Regions from separate parts of the Homo sapiens genome. Here region 2 is linked to region 1. The links are contacts of gene promoters, found by promoter capture Hi-C in blood cells and fetal thymus (Javierre and others, 2016). All regions are on one chromosome and are shown on one strand. Each heading gives the region's core, a stretch centred on a gene start or on the middle of the fragment in contact. The rest is flanking DNA. Distances are from core to core; before and after follow the strand shown.

What was found. Contacts are between HindIII fragments. The CHiCAGO score rates a contact against its expected background, and 5 or more counts as called.
Region 2: a fragment that was not itself captured here is called in contact with the fragment with the promoter of PCBP3 in region 1 in 1 of 17 cell types (naive CD4 T cells); the score reaches 5.8 in naive CD4 T cells.

What each region holds. Positions count from the first base shown.
Region 1 is chr21:45,641,089-45,647,958 of GRCh38, reverse strand. PCBP3 (poly(rC) binding protein 3) reads right to left here and starts at 4,234. Exons shown (of 18, transcript NM_001384156.1): 1 at 4,091-4,234. RefSeq lists silencers at 3,580-3,719, 4,040-5,029. The HindIII fragment of the contact is 8,393 bases long and covers 680-6,870 here.
Region 2 is chr21:45,917,243-45,924,112 of GRCh38, reverse strand. PCBP3 (poly(rC) binding protein 3) reads right to left here. Exons shown (of 18, transcript NM_001384156.1): 13 at 6,484-6,525. Among named protein-coding and RNA genes, the nearest start is that of COL6A1, 61 kb to the left of the region's middle. RefSeq lists an enhancer at 4,439-4,938. The HindIII fragment of the contact is 185 bases long and covers 2,897-3,081 here.

The DNA.
Region 1 (6,870 bases), core at 2,985-5,484:
CTCTCTTCTACTTTTAAGAACCCTTGTGATTACTCAGAGCCCACCCAGATAATCCAGGATAATCTCCCTATTTTAAAATCAGCTGATTAGCAACCTCATTCCATCTGCTGCCTTAACTCCCCTGCCATGTAACATAACATAGTCCTGAGATTAGGATGTGGACAGCTTTATGAGCCATTATTCTACCTACCATGCAACTCCTCCTCCACTTTCACCCCCCTCCATCTCCAACAAAGTTCCAACCATTTCACAATGCCCCTAACACTTCCAGCAGGGTCCCAACTCCTTCACTATGCTTCCATACCTCCAGCCTCCACACCACTACACACTCTGTACTCCGGTTATTCCAACCTTCCAGTCTTTTTCTAATAAATGTATACCCAATCCATGCCCAATTATAACTCATGCCCTAGGGTCCAGCCCAAAGGCCACCTCCTCTCTAAAGCTTTCCCTGATTCTCGGCCCAAATGAATTGCCCCTCAACACGTTTGCCTGGTTTTCTATGTATCCCAACTGCAGCACTGAGTATGGCCCCCTGTAATTATCTGTTTACATGTTCCTTCCTCAATCCGAACAGGTGAGCCCTTCAATAAGAACTCTGTCTCATTCCCTCATGGGTTCCCAGATCATAGCATAGGAAATGGCAAACAGTAGGGAATCAGGGAGTATTTCTGAAGCTTGGATGAGGCAGAAGGAAGTTTTCCTGAGTTTCTGTCAACAAAAGAGATGTCAAAGAGTAACCTGGGTTAAGTGTACAACAAATGGGGCCACAGAATCAGTTCAGATGATCATAACAAAAAGCACCTCAACAATCCACTGCTTAGCTTGATATACAACTTACTACCATGTGACATCTCTGTACCACAAGTGACATCTATCTTTTTTGTTTTTTTTTTACTGCTAACCTGTGGGGCAATTCTAAAGTAACTGACAACATTAACCTCAAGAGAAAGAAAAGATTCATGTAAAATGATTTACAAAGATGTCCTCAATATTAGAGAAAAGAGAGTAGATATAGCTCTAACACAACAGGAATGCCTGGCAACCACTCAGTAGCCCAACACATAAACAGATCCCATCGCCAGGAAAGGCTGAGAACCAACATGCTGGAGAATGCAAAACATGCTAGAGTCAACCCTTTTGGGAACAAGTTGCCCCTACATAGATATATGCCTACAGATGTATGTCTATATTGTAATAAAGGTGCTATGATTAGAATATCCCCTCCAAAACTCATGCTGAAATGTAATCCTCAATGCAGAAGCAGTATTGAGAGGTGGGACCTTTAAGAGGTGATTGGATCAAGAGGGCTCTGCCCTCATAAAATGGATTAATCCATTCATGGGTTAATGGATTAGTGGGTTGTCATGGGAGTGGAGCTGGTGGCTTTGGCCCCCGGACCTTAGACTTCTCAGCCTCCATGACTATAAGAAATAAATTCCTTTGCTTTGTAAATTACCTAGTTTCAGGTATTCTGTTATAAGCAAAAGAAAACAAACTAAAACAAACTGGTACTTTCTTAAAGGAATGGTTGTTAAGAAAACAGGGTTTCATTTAATGTCAGTGATTTGTTACTTGATGCCCATACTCAAGCAACAAAACTCCCACCTAGAGAGACAGTGAAGACTAAGCAAAGGAAATTGAATGTTGTAGCATAATTATCCTCCTTAAAAAGAAGAATAAAATGGCGTGTTTTCAAGACACGCTCCCATTCAACATAATTTCCCTGATCAAATTTTATTTAATAATATGAATTCTGAAATTAATTTTAAAGTACACTGGAAAGGAAGTTTGAGCTCCCCCTGCCCCAAAACACACACACACACACACACACACACACACACACACACAGAGAGAGAGAGAGAGAGAGAGAGAAAGAGAGAGAGAGAGAGAGAGAGAGAGAGAAACAGGTGACACGGATTCAGCACCATGGACAGCGGGCCCATGACGCCTTGCCTCTGAGTCACTGCCACCAGGGATGAGAGCTGAGACATCAGAGCTGCCCCAAAATCTACAGCATTTATTCTAATGTTTAAGTTGGGGCAATTCCAATACATGAGCAAGTATTTTCCTTGGTTATGGCCCAAAGCACTGCCTTCTTCACTGAGAGGATACACAACTTACATCTACTAAAATCTGTTTCAGTGTTCACCTTTACAATAAAGCCATGAGACTTTTGTAAAAATAGAAATGATTCTGCCATTGACACAGGAACTGAAATAATCAAAACTGATACACAGAATCCAAATCTGAATAGCTAGATTGGTTCAAGAAGCTCGTGAGGCTTTTTCAAATTTATAAATGCAGCATGCTGTCAGCCTCCTCAGAACAATAGGGTAAAGAATAGCTTCTTCAAAACAGCTAGCAAAATACAACTATATGTTGAACTTTTTCGCATAAATAGCTAAAAACGTAACCACAAAGCTGTGTGGGTTTTCCCCCACCATGAGCATTATAAAGATATCTGGGAAAGTGATGTTTTGAGGTCCAAAAGCACCACTAATCAGCAGCACCTGGGGCAACGCCAGCCAAAAAGCCCTGAATTCTAGACAGAGTCCATTTTTTTCAGTTATAAAGACCCCATTTATCATCAAAACTTTTTCAAAACCTTATAATATTATCAACTAAGAAAATACGTGAAGCTACGTAAGTTCTAAACCATTCGTAATGAACTTGCACTGTATAAACAACAGCATCTACATACAAGCAAAAAAAAAAAATACTGCTCGAAAGTGAGACATCAGTTAGTCGGTCACTGCACTTGTTAGTTTTAAGGCCCCATGTTTTCTGACAGATCTCCAAGCCTGAAAACACCAGAACTATTTCTGCTTCTGTCGTGTGATGATCAATTAGGTCCTTTCAGATCTTGCAAATGATCCCTTTAGAGTGCCACTGTTCTACAAACACTCCTTTTGGGGCCAAAATAGGTATCTCTGACACGCTTTAAGATGATGAATTATTCTTGAATATGAGGAGGACTGGGAGTTAGTTCTCTTAAATAGGGAAGCACCCTTGCACACTCCTTTGGGATCCACATCTGAGAAAGTCCAAAGAAAAGAAAAAGGGCAACAGTTTGCCCCTGAAAGTGAGTTCAATTTCAGAGGGATATGTGAGGGCCTGTGCCAGAGGAATATTTTTGAAATGGGGGGAGTCTATAAGTTGCCCAGTCTAATCTCTAAAGGCCTCTCCGCAAGGCCCTGCTGCTCAAGATTCCTTCTGGCGAATCCCACTCTACAAACACTCAACAACTAAGAGTGCTACTGGCTCACATGGAGGGCTAACAAGACCTGCAAATCCAGGCTGCTCTGAAGGACGGTGGAAGATAACCAACCCCGAGCCACGAGATTTAGGACCCGACTTTTGGTTAACTTTCAAATTTCTTATGCCAGTAATATACTTCAGAGTGGCGCGGAGGGAATTGGAAAACATCACCAGGCAAAAAAAAGAAAAAAACTCTTTCACGAAACAAGACTTCCAATTAGAACACGTGTGGGGACAATAAGAAACACGTTCTAACCACCCCCAAAATTAAAATAAAACACAGCGAGCAACAAGAGAGACCTGCGCGCGCCCCACCGCCCGCGCGCGGCTCTCCGCAGGGTCACCGAGGGGTGAGGCCGCGCTCTCCCGGCGGCCGTCCAGGGGGAGGAGGCCCCGCGCCCCGCCCCGCCGCCCTCCAGCCGCCGCGGCCGCTCCGGGGTGTTCCCCAGATCTCTTCTCAATCAAGAGATGAAATTTGTGCCGTTTTGAAACTGAAGCCTCAAGTAGTCCAGACGTTTTCTGACCCACATCCGAGACGTTCTCGGCTTCCCGCCGCAACTTCCGAATTTGGGGAGGGGGCGGAGGCGGGCGGGCCAGGCCTGGCGACCGCACCTTGAGGGAGCGCGAGTCCCCTCGCTGCCCCGGGCCGCCGCAGGCGCCGGCGGCGGTCGGGGACGGCGCGACCCAGCCCGGGACCCCCGCCCGCCCCGGCTCGGGCGAAGTTTGCCGCGGCCCGGGGTCGCCCCGTCACTCGGCCTCCGTCGGGGACTGGGTCCCCGTAACCCGCAAGGGCGCCCGACCCCGACCCCGCCCGCCACCGCTCACTCACCTGCCCTGCGCCGGACGGCGAGCCCGCGGGCCGGCGGGGAGAGGCCGGGAGGCCCGGGCGGGGTCGGGGCGAGGCGGGTGAGGAGGCGGCGGCGGAGCCTAAGTCAGCCGAAGCGGCGGCGACCGCGGCTGAGGCGGCTGAGGCGGCGGTCGCGGCTTCAGGCGCTCCAGCCCGAGCGCTGCGCGCGGCGCGGGCCCGCCCCTCTGCGCCGCTAACCAATCTAGCGCCGCGCGCCGCCGCCGGCCCCGCCCCCGCCCAAGGGCAGGCTCGCGAAAGCGGGCGCCGCGGGCCAATGAAAGGGCGGAACATCAACCGGCGCGGCCAATCCGAGCCCGGAAAGTTCTCTGGAAAAAGCCAACTCCAGTCAAAGGGGCGGGGGTGGGGCTGGGGGCGGGGCGGGGACCTGGCCCAATGACGCGCGGGGCGGGGCCGAGCATTGGGCGGGGAGGAGGCGGGGCCTCGAACGGGCGGGCCGGTCACTAGTAGTGGGCGGGGTCGTAGGCGGGACATTGAGCGGGCGGGGCAAGAATCGGGGCGGGGGCCTAATGAAGTGAAGCGGGGAGGGGACGGGCAGTGGGAGGGGCAGGTCACATTTGGGGTGGGGTGGGGGCGGGGCAGGGGCGGGGCTGAGTACGGGAGGCCAGGCCGGGGAGAGGCCTAAGTCGGGGCGGGCGGGAGAAGGGCAAGAGCAGTGGGCGGGGCTCGGGGGTTAGGGGATTAGTGCCCTTGCTGGGGCGGGGCCCAGGCTTGGGGCGGGCCTGTGGTGGGCAGGGCCGTGGATGGGCGGGGCGAGCCTTCGTGGGCGGGCCAGGCCTGTGGTGGGCGGGGCGGGCCGTTGGTGAGCGAGACCTTGGTGGACGGGGCGGATCCGCGGTGGGCGGGGATTTGGCGGGCGGGCGGGTGGGCCCGACGGGACGGGAATGGCCGTTGAATTCCCAGCCGTGCCGCAACCCCGAAGGTCCCCCTGCAGCGCCCGCTTCCCGTTCTCTGTGGGCCTGGCCCCGGCCCGGAGGCTGGGGCCGCAGCGCCCGGCGGGCAGGGGCCCCGAGCGGCTCGTGAGCCTGTGCCCAGACGCTGCCCGCCCCGCGCTGGTCCCGCCGCCCTGTCCCCTCCGCCCGCCCGGCGTTCGCGTGCCGTGGCCTGGGGCGGGGCGTTGCTGGGCCCCGGGGGCTGCAGGGGGAGGCCGCCCTTTCTCTGGGCTGGCTCCGGGCTGTTCCGCTCCGCGCCGTTTTCCCGGTACTTCCCGCGGAGCCCGCCTCGCTGTGCGTCCCCGCCCGGGCGTTTCTTCCGCGGCGCTGAGCGCCCGCCCCGGCCTCGGGCAAGGGCAGCCGGACGCCCCGAGGACCAGGGCGCTGGGGCCGAGGCGCGTCCTCCGCAGTCGCCGCGCCTGGGCCCCGTTTCCCCGCGGGTCCTCGCCGGGGTGGGAGGCGCCTCTTGGCGTCCGTGGGGAGCTGGGTGTGGGGGGCGGCAGGGCAGGAGGTGGGGGGGCTGAGCCGGAGAAACGTCCTCGCCCCGCCCGAGACCTCAGACACCCCAGAACCTCGGGCCGGCAGCCAGCTGCAGGAATCGCGCCCTAAAGCCTGGGGTCCGCGCCCGCCCGCCTCCCGCGAGCGCCAGGGGCTGCCGGGTCACCGGGATGCAGCCTCGAGGCGACGTCACAGACCCCACGCGGCCCCCCGAGCACCCCCGGAGCCGGCGCGGGGACAGGGGTTCGGGATGGACGGAACCCACGCAGGGAACGTTCCGGGCCGTCTACGCCAGGCTCAGGGCGGCCGTCAGCTGGGGTTGGAGGTGGGTCAGGAAGAGATGTGTCCTTTTGTCTCCAAATGTCGCTTGTGTCATTAAAAGACAACCTTAAAATAGAAGAAAAAAAAAAAAAAAAAGCCTGGGCTGGCGTGAGGAGGGGCCGTCCGCGAGCTACGGAGGCTGAGTCGGCGGGGAAGGGAATGTGGAGTGGGGCGGGGGGGGCGCTTGGCGAACCCGTGCTTTGGACGCGCTTGGCGGTTTCGGGGAGAATGAGAATGGAGGGGAGGGAGGCCAAGGCCTGCAGCCTGGTGGGAATGCTGGGAAGGACGCTGTGGACAGGACCTTACTGGAAATGAACCAGAAGGGAAGGTGGGCCGGGCGCGGTGGCTCGCCCCTTAATCCCAACGCTTTGGGAGGCCGAGGCAGAAGGATCGCTTGAGCCCAGGCGTTGGAGACCCGCATGGGAAACATCGTGAGACTCTGTTTTTAGAAAAGGAGGAGGAGAAGGGATACTGGGCGGCCTCTGCCACACCTGGACTCTGCGGGCAGGGGGCCAGAGGGACCCAGGGCTGCTGTGCTGGAGCTGGAGCTGGCGCGAGGGTCTGGGCAGAGCACTGTCAGCGCCCCCAGATTACAGGCTGCCAGCCTCCCCCGGTCCTCTGCGGGAGCCTGCGGCCTCAGCTGCCTGCCCCGCCGGCTGAAAGACACAGTTAGTCATTAGGAAAGTAATGATAGTGTTTTCAGGGCAGCGTGTTAGACCCTAAAGACTTTCTATTATTTGCAGTTCCTGCCAACCCTGTGAAGAAAAAAAGCAGCTCATCTCTCACGCCCCGCCTCTTGACACACGCTGATCCGGCCTGGTTCTGGGTTTTCCCGGAGCCTGCAGGGCAGCCCCGCCCCAGGCGGCAGCAGCTGGGCCTGCAGCGTGTCCCTCATGGTGCCCGGCCTCCAGGTCCAGAGTTTCCTGCCTCCCTGAGCTCGGGGTGCGCTGTCTCCACCCTCTCATGGCCGTCAGGGTGCTGGTCCCGTCAGAA
Region 2 (6,870 bases), core at 1,740-4,239, 280 kb before region 1:
CGACTGTTCCCGGTGTTCACATCTCCTCGTGCACACCCGATCTTACGTGTGCTGTTTCTACCCACTCGACTGTTCCCGGTGTTCGCATCTCCTCGTGCACACCCGATCTTACGTGTGCTGTTTCTATCCACTCGACTGTTCCCGGTGTTCGCATCTCCTCGTGCACACCTGATCTTACGTGTGCTGTTTCTACCCACTCGACTGTTCCCGGTGTTCGCATCTCCTCGTGCACACCCGATCTTACGTGTGCTGTTTCTACCCACTCGACTGTTCCCGGTGTTCGCATCTCCTCGTGCACACCCGATCTTACGTGTGCTGTTTCTATCCACTCAACTGTTCCAGGTCGAGTTTATTTGTATTATTTGTTTATCCTGTTTGGGAATTGTTGATGGTTTCTCTAATTTTGGAAGGTTCTCTGTGTGTCTCTTGGAATTTTCTCTCTCCATTCCATGTCTCCCCTGGGCTTCCAACTGGATGCATGTTCTTCCTTCTCAGGCCTCCTGACTAGTGTTTCTCAGACCTCCACGGGCCAGTGAGTCGCCCGAGGGTCCTGTAAAGATGCAAAGTCTCGTTCTGAGAAGGGCAAGCTGGGAGGAACAGCATGTGAGAGCCGTGCCACTGGGGCCCTGCAGAGGGTGCGGTGTTCCAAGCAAGGAAAGATGGAACTCCAGCCAGCAGTGAGGGTTGCCTGGGCCTCTTGTTTCATGAAAGGAGTGGCTGCAGTAGCACAGCTCTGACAGCAGGTGGGGCCATGGGCAAGCCGCTGCACCACTTGCAGCTGCAAGGTCTTGGAAGGTGCCAGGCTTCAGAGTGAGAGAGGCTGGGCCCCTCGGCATGTGCCCAGAGCATGCGGCATTGACTACTCTCTCACTACAGTGAGGGGACCCCTCACCCACCTCCCCACAGGGTTCCAGAGGGAGACACAGAACAAGTGGGAGGAGAAAGCACTCTGCAACAATCTGCCCAAATCTCTGCAAGTGCATGAGATTGTCACAAGAGCCCACGCGTGCCCTTCATGTGTCCAGGGGAAATGCGTGGCACCGACAGAGTCCCGGGGATTGCACAGCTGGGATGAAGGGCCGCATCCAGCACAGGATCTGGTCGTGCCTCCCATCCCTGGCTCCCACTTACAACGACACATTTCTACAATTTCCCCACGACTCTTTCACTGAAGAACCAGCTTCTTAGTAGACACTGGTGTCCGCTTGATTCCCAGCGTTGCTGCACATCTGCCACTCACGTCCAGCTGCCTGGGCGGCTGTGCCAAGCCCTCCCATTCCCTGGCTCATTAGCTCTGGCCAAGGCACCTCTCAGAGCTTCCACTTCCTCGTGTGTGGAACTGGCCCCACGGTCCTGAGATCTGCCTCACAGGGTTGGTGCAAAGGCTCATCTAAAATCGCCTACATGGCAAACTCTTCGTCAACTCTAACATGTTTTTATTTTTGCTTGCTTTCAACATCCCCTTTAAATGATGGGGACGTTAAGTAAGGGAGTGATTAGGAGAGCTGGAAGACTAGAAATAAAGATTTGTATATATGAGGGTATTTTTTCTTTTTTTGAGACAGGGTCTTGCTCTGTCGCCCAGGCTGGAGTGCAGTGGTGCAATCTCTGCTCACTACAGTCTCGACTGCCGGAGCTCAGGTAACTGCCCCACCTTAGCCTCCTGAGTAGCTGGGACTCCAGGTGTGTGCCACCACACCCAGTTAATTTCTGTATTTTTTTGTAGAAATGGGGTCTTGCTCTTTTGTCCAACCTGGTCTCCAACTCCTGGGCTCAAGCAATCCTCCCATCTTGGCCTCTCAAAGTGCTGGGATCGCAGGAGAGAGCCACTGTACCTGGCCTATGAGGGTATTTTTGAAGTTCACTCATTTCTTCCAGAAAAAACAATTCCTTCCTGGTGTAACTTCCCCGCTGTAATTAAAGGTGCAGACGTGCTGGGTGAGAGTCAAGCAGTCTGTCCAGGTGTGGGCGCTCTCGGCTCTGCTCTCAGGTCCCAGGTCTCAGGTGCTGTTTCTCTTTCTCATTTCTGAAACTGCACTTGGTCTGACCCAGGCAGGACACACAGAGGCACATGGATAGTCTCCAGGGCTGCCGAGTGGCCATACTGGAGAGCCTGACTTCAGTCCTCCTAAGTCCTTCACCCTGTCGAGCAGCTCTGTGCCTCTTCAAAACACCTGCACATCCAGAGCACAGTAAGCCTCGAGGAGGACGTGGGTAAAATGATGCATGTGGCGTGTGAGGAGCTGGAGAAAAGCAGGCGAAGGCAGATCAGTGCCGATGACTCCTTTTTTTTTTGAAACGGGTCTCGTTCTGTCGCCCAGGCTGGAGTGCAGAGGGATGATCTTGGCTCACTGCAACCTCCACCTCCCGGGCTCAGGCAATCCTCTCGCCTCAGCCTCCCGGGTAGCTGGGACTACAGGCGTGTGCCACCACGTCTGGCTAAATTTTTTTGTATTTTTGGTAGAGACGGGGTCTCGCCATGTTGGCCAGGCTTGTCTCAAACTCCTGAGCTCAAGCGATCCACCTGCCTCAGCCTCCCAAAGGGCTGGGATTACAGGCTTGAGCTACCACACCCAGCCTGAGCCACCATGCCCAGCCCAGATGATTCTTAAATAAGAACAAGCTAAAAACACTTTTTAAAACTGGGCACAGAAAACACATGCATATTTTAGTTTTACATAAAGAAATACTCAAACCTAAGGAATGTATTTTCTTATGCTTGATGTTTCTTATTCATGGGCCCACACATCCAGGTCAAATATCACGTTCCTAAAAAATGACTCTAGTATCTGTATATAAGCCGGCACTGTGGTATAAATAAACTTTGTATTCAATTACATTATAAATTAAAACAACATATTCTATAATTATATTGATATAGTAAGAAATTGAAGCTTTAAAAATTTCTACTAAATACCGATGCTTTAAAAATTTCTACTAAATACCAAGCTCAGATACAAATTGCTTCCTGACTATTGTTACCTATGTCACTAAACAATCATTTTATTTTTGTGTTTAATGATTAAGTGATTGTCCAAGTCTTCAATTTTACACGCCTGCAAGAAAAGCACCATGGAAGCTTCCAGTCTTCTATTAATAACAGCTGCTCTGCAAATCTCATGACACCGATGTAGAAACAGAATGTCTTCCACAGAGAGATACTTCACAGTAAAGAACCAAGCGCCTTAGTCCACTCCTGCTGCTATGACAAAATGCCTTAGACCGGGCAATTCAGAAACAGCATAAATGTGTGGCTCACAGTTATGGGGGCTGGAAACTGGAGATCAAAGTGCTGGCTGGTTTGGTGTATGGGAAGGGCCAAGTCTCTGCTTTCAATATGGTGCCTGAACGCTCTTGTCCTCACATGACAGGAGGGATGGAGGGGAGGCCACTCTCTGAAGCTTCTGTTATCTGAAGCCTCTGTTATCTGAGGCCTCTGTTATAGGGGCACCAATGCTGTTCACGAGGGTGGAGCGCTCATGACCCAATCACTCCCCAGCCCTGGGACCCCCCACCCTCTAATACTGTCACCTTGGTGATTAGGTTCCAACAGAGAAATTGTGGAGGAATAGACATATTTAAACCATAGCACCAGGTATCTCAAATCATTACCACATGCACTGAGGCAGTTCTCTTAACAGTTAGTTATACATTAAACTAATTTGAAACAATCTGCACAACTACCCATTTCTAAGAGATACTGAGAAAGTCACATGAGAAAGAGCAAAGCCACCAATCGAAGTAAAAGCCAATCACCAAACATCAGGGTCCTGCAGTCCCACCGTGGCACACAGCCACGGCCTCTGGAAATTTCAGACCACAAGCATTCTGGCTCAGACGGGTGCTCAGCCAAAGGCCACAGTGAGAACGTTAGGCTCTGTGGCCACAGGAAATCCGTAAGGTGTCACCAGAGGGTCCCTGCAGGTCTGAGCATCCAACTTCAGGGCGACTGTCTGGGGTAAACACAAACCCTGACCCCATCGACTAACCTTCCCTTTACCAAGGGCACCGCACACTGCCTTTCCTTTGGGTTCCAGAGCTTTGCAAAGTCAAGTGACCCCCCCTTTGGAACCTGCCTCTGCACACGTGCATCTCTAGATGTGCGTGACCACCTGTCCTGAGTCCTTAATGGAACTGGGCCACCCCAGAAAGTCGCCTCTGACTCCCCTGGCTTCCATCTTCATCTTCCTTCACACAGGCTTTCTGTTAGGACACATCACACCTGCCCCCCACACCCCTGCCACACACATGCACGGGGACGCGCACGCGCGCGCGCACACACACACACACACACACACCTCTGCTTCTGCCCAACGCTGCTGCTGGGCGCAGGCTGGGGCAGCCCCAACAGTGCCTTCCGGTGTGTGGTGGCCACAGCCCGGCTTCCTAGTGGGGTCAGGCACTGGTGTCTACAGCTGACCCCAGGATGAGATGTCCTTGATGTAGCTACAGCAGCATCACCAAAGGTCTGACGCCAGGAACCACTAAAAACGGCCTCTGGGGCAGGTGGGGAAAGGCTTTTCTTGATCAGCGTTTCTCTACCATTTGATTCATGTGTTGCCTTTAATGGAATAACTATTGTTATCTATTCTCCATTCAATATAAATTTTCCTGCAATGATAGTAAATTGCATCTCTATATCAAAGATTTATTTAATGTTCATTAACTCTTAAAAACACTCCTGACCTGCCTTCTCATCTCACTCAGATGGACGTCCTTGCCCCCAACTCAAAAGCATCAGGGTTTGCAGAAGGCTCTGGAGCAGCCCGCTCACCTGGCGGCCACCTCCCAACCAGCTCAGAGGCGCCTCTCGCAGTTCAGAGGGAGCAGCACACAGACTGGAACTGCGTTACGAGGAGCAGCTACTGAGCTGGGCAAACGTTCAAAATGGTTTAGAGAAGAGAAACCTCCTCAGAACCAACTCCAGGTTTGCCCCATCTGCTGACAGCACGAAGCACTTCCGGTGGGGCCGTCTGTCTCTCGTTCTCTGTTGCTCTCCCCTCTCCTCTCCCCAGTGCCTGCCAGTGCGGCCGTCACTCCCTGGGGGCCCTAAAGCCGCCTCCAGAGAGGCCCTTTGCTCACAGTTTGCACCTTTTATCTCTTGGCCCCTAAGGGGTCTGAGCCGCACAGCCCAGAGCCGCCCAGGGTTCCCCTCCGATGGATGATCTGAGAGTATCTTCTTCCTCCAGCACTGGAATTACACCGACGGTTTATCTGAGAGTAACTTCTTCCTCCAGCACTGGAATTACACCAGTGGTTTATCTGAGGGTAACTTCTTCCCTCAGCACTGGAATTACACCAATGGTTTATCTGAGGGTAACTTCTTCCCCCAGCACTGGAATTACACCGACCGTTTATCTGAGAGTAACTTCTTCCTCCAGCACTGGAATTACACCGACGGTTTATCTGAGAGTAACTTCTTCCCCCAGCACTGGAATTACACCGACGGTTTATCTGAGGGTAACTTCTTCCCCCAGCACTGGAATTACACCGACGGTTTATCTGAGGGTAACTTCTTCCCCCAGCACTGGAATTACACCGACCGTTTATCTGAGGGTAACTTCTTCCCCCAGCACTGGAATTACACCGACCGTTTATCTGAGAGTAACTTCTTCCCCCAGCACTGGAATTACACCGACCGTTTATCTGAGAGTAACTTCTTCCTCCAGCACTGGAATTACACCGACGGTTTATCTGAGAGTAACTTCTTCCCCCAGCACTGGAATTACACCGACCGTTTATCTGAGGGTAACTTCTTCCCCCAGCACTGGAATTACACCGACCGTTTATCTGAGGGTAACTTCTTCCTCCAGCACTGGAATTACACCTAGACCCAGCAGGAGCAGAAAAGAGGTGTCGGAGCCCCCGGTCATGGAGCTGCATGGGACCCAGCTCCGCATGGCCCGGGCGGAGCCAAGGACGCTATGCCCGCCTGGCATCCCACTGATTCTGGAATGAAGACAAAGGCCTATTCCACTGGCTTTCCACAGCCTGGATCTGTGTGTGTAGATGGACCCTATGTTTTCATGTGGACTCTGAAAGGGGGAGTTAATTTCACCAGGCCCTCAAATGTGCTTGCCAAGGTATCTTTGTGGCCTGTTTGATAATGTCACCCAACTTCTTAGGCGCAGAGAAAGTATCACTGACGCCTGCCTGTGGCGGGTGAGCACATCCTCACTGCCCTGCACGGGGACAGAGCCCGTCTCAGTTCCCTCCCAGGCCCCGTGGGAGGGAGGAAAACCCAGGACTGCGGCAGAATTGAGACAATTTGACATCAGGCCAAGTCCTCAACACAAGCAGAATTAGTGCTAAGAGGTTAAAAGGTTATTCGAGGTCATATGGATACGACACAGGTCAGGAACGCTGAGAAGTTGATTAATATTATTGTGTAATATTAATGTTAGTAGCAATTAACAGCAGCATGCAGGTAGGTAAACAACCATGAGAAGAGAAAGGTGAGAGGAAGACAAAGTGAAGACTCACATCCGGGTGAGGGATGGCATACTGTCCCTGGATTGTGTAGGCCTAGAGAGAGAGAGAGACCCCGTCAGACTGCAACCTGGCTGCACCACGGCTCAGCACCCGCCGCCACCCTCCAGCATGACAAGGACCCTCCGGTAGAAGCTTCCCCCTCGTGTGCCTCTCCACCTGTCCCCATCCTAGGACAAAGGGCCAACCCTCCCAGGGCACCAGGAGCCCCAGGGGAGCCGCACCCACTTCCTCTGGGCGGGCAGAGCTGAGCTGGCCAGTTCAGCGGGTGGGAGGGAAACAGTTCAGCCTTGATGCTTCCGACTCCAAGTTTCTTAAAGCAAAAGAATCGAAGAGTGATCTGCCCAGTAAGAGGTCTCCACTAATTATTACGGTTTTGAA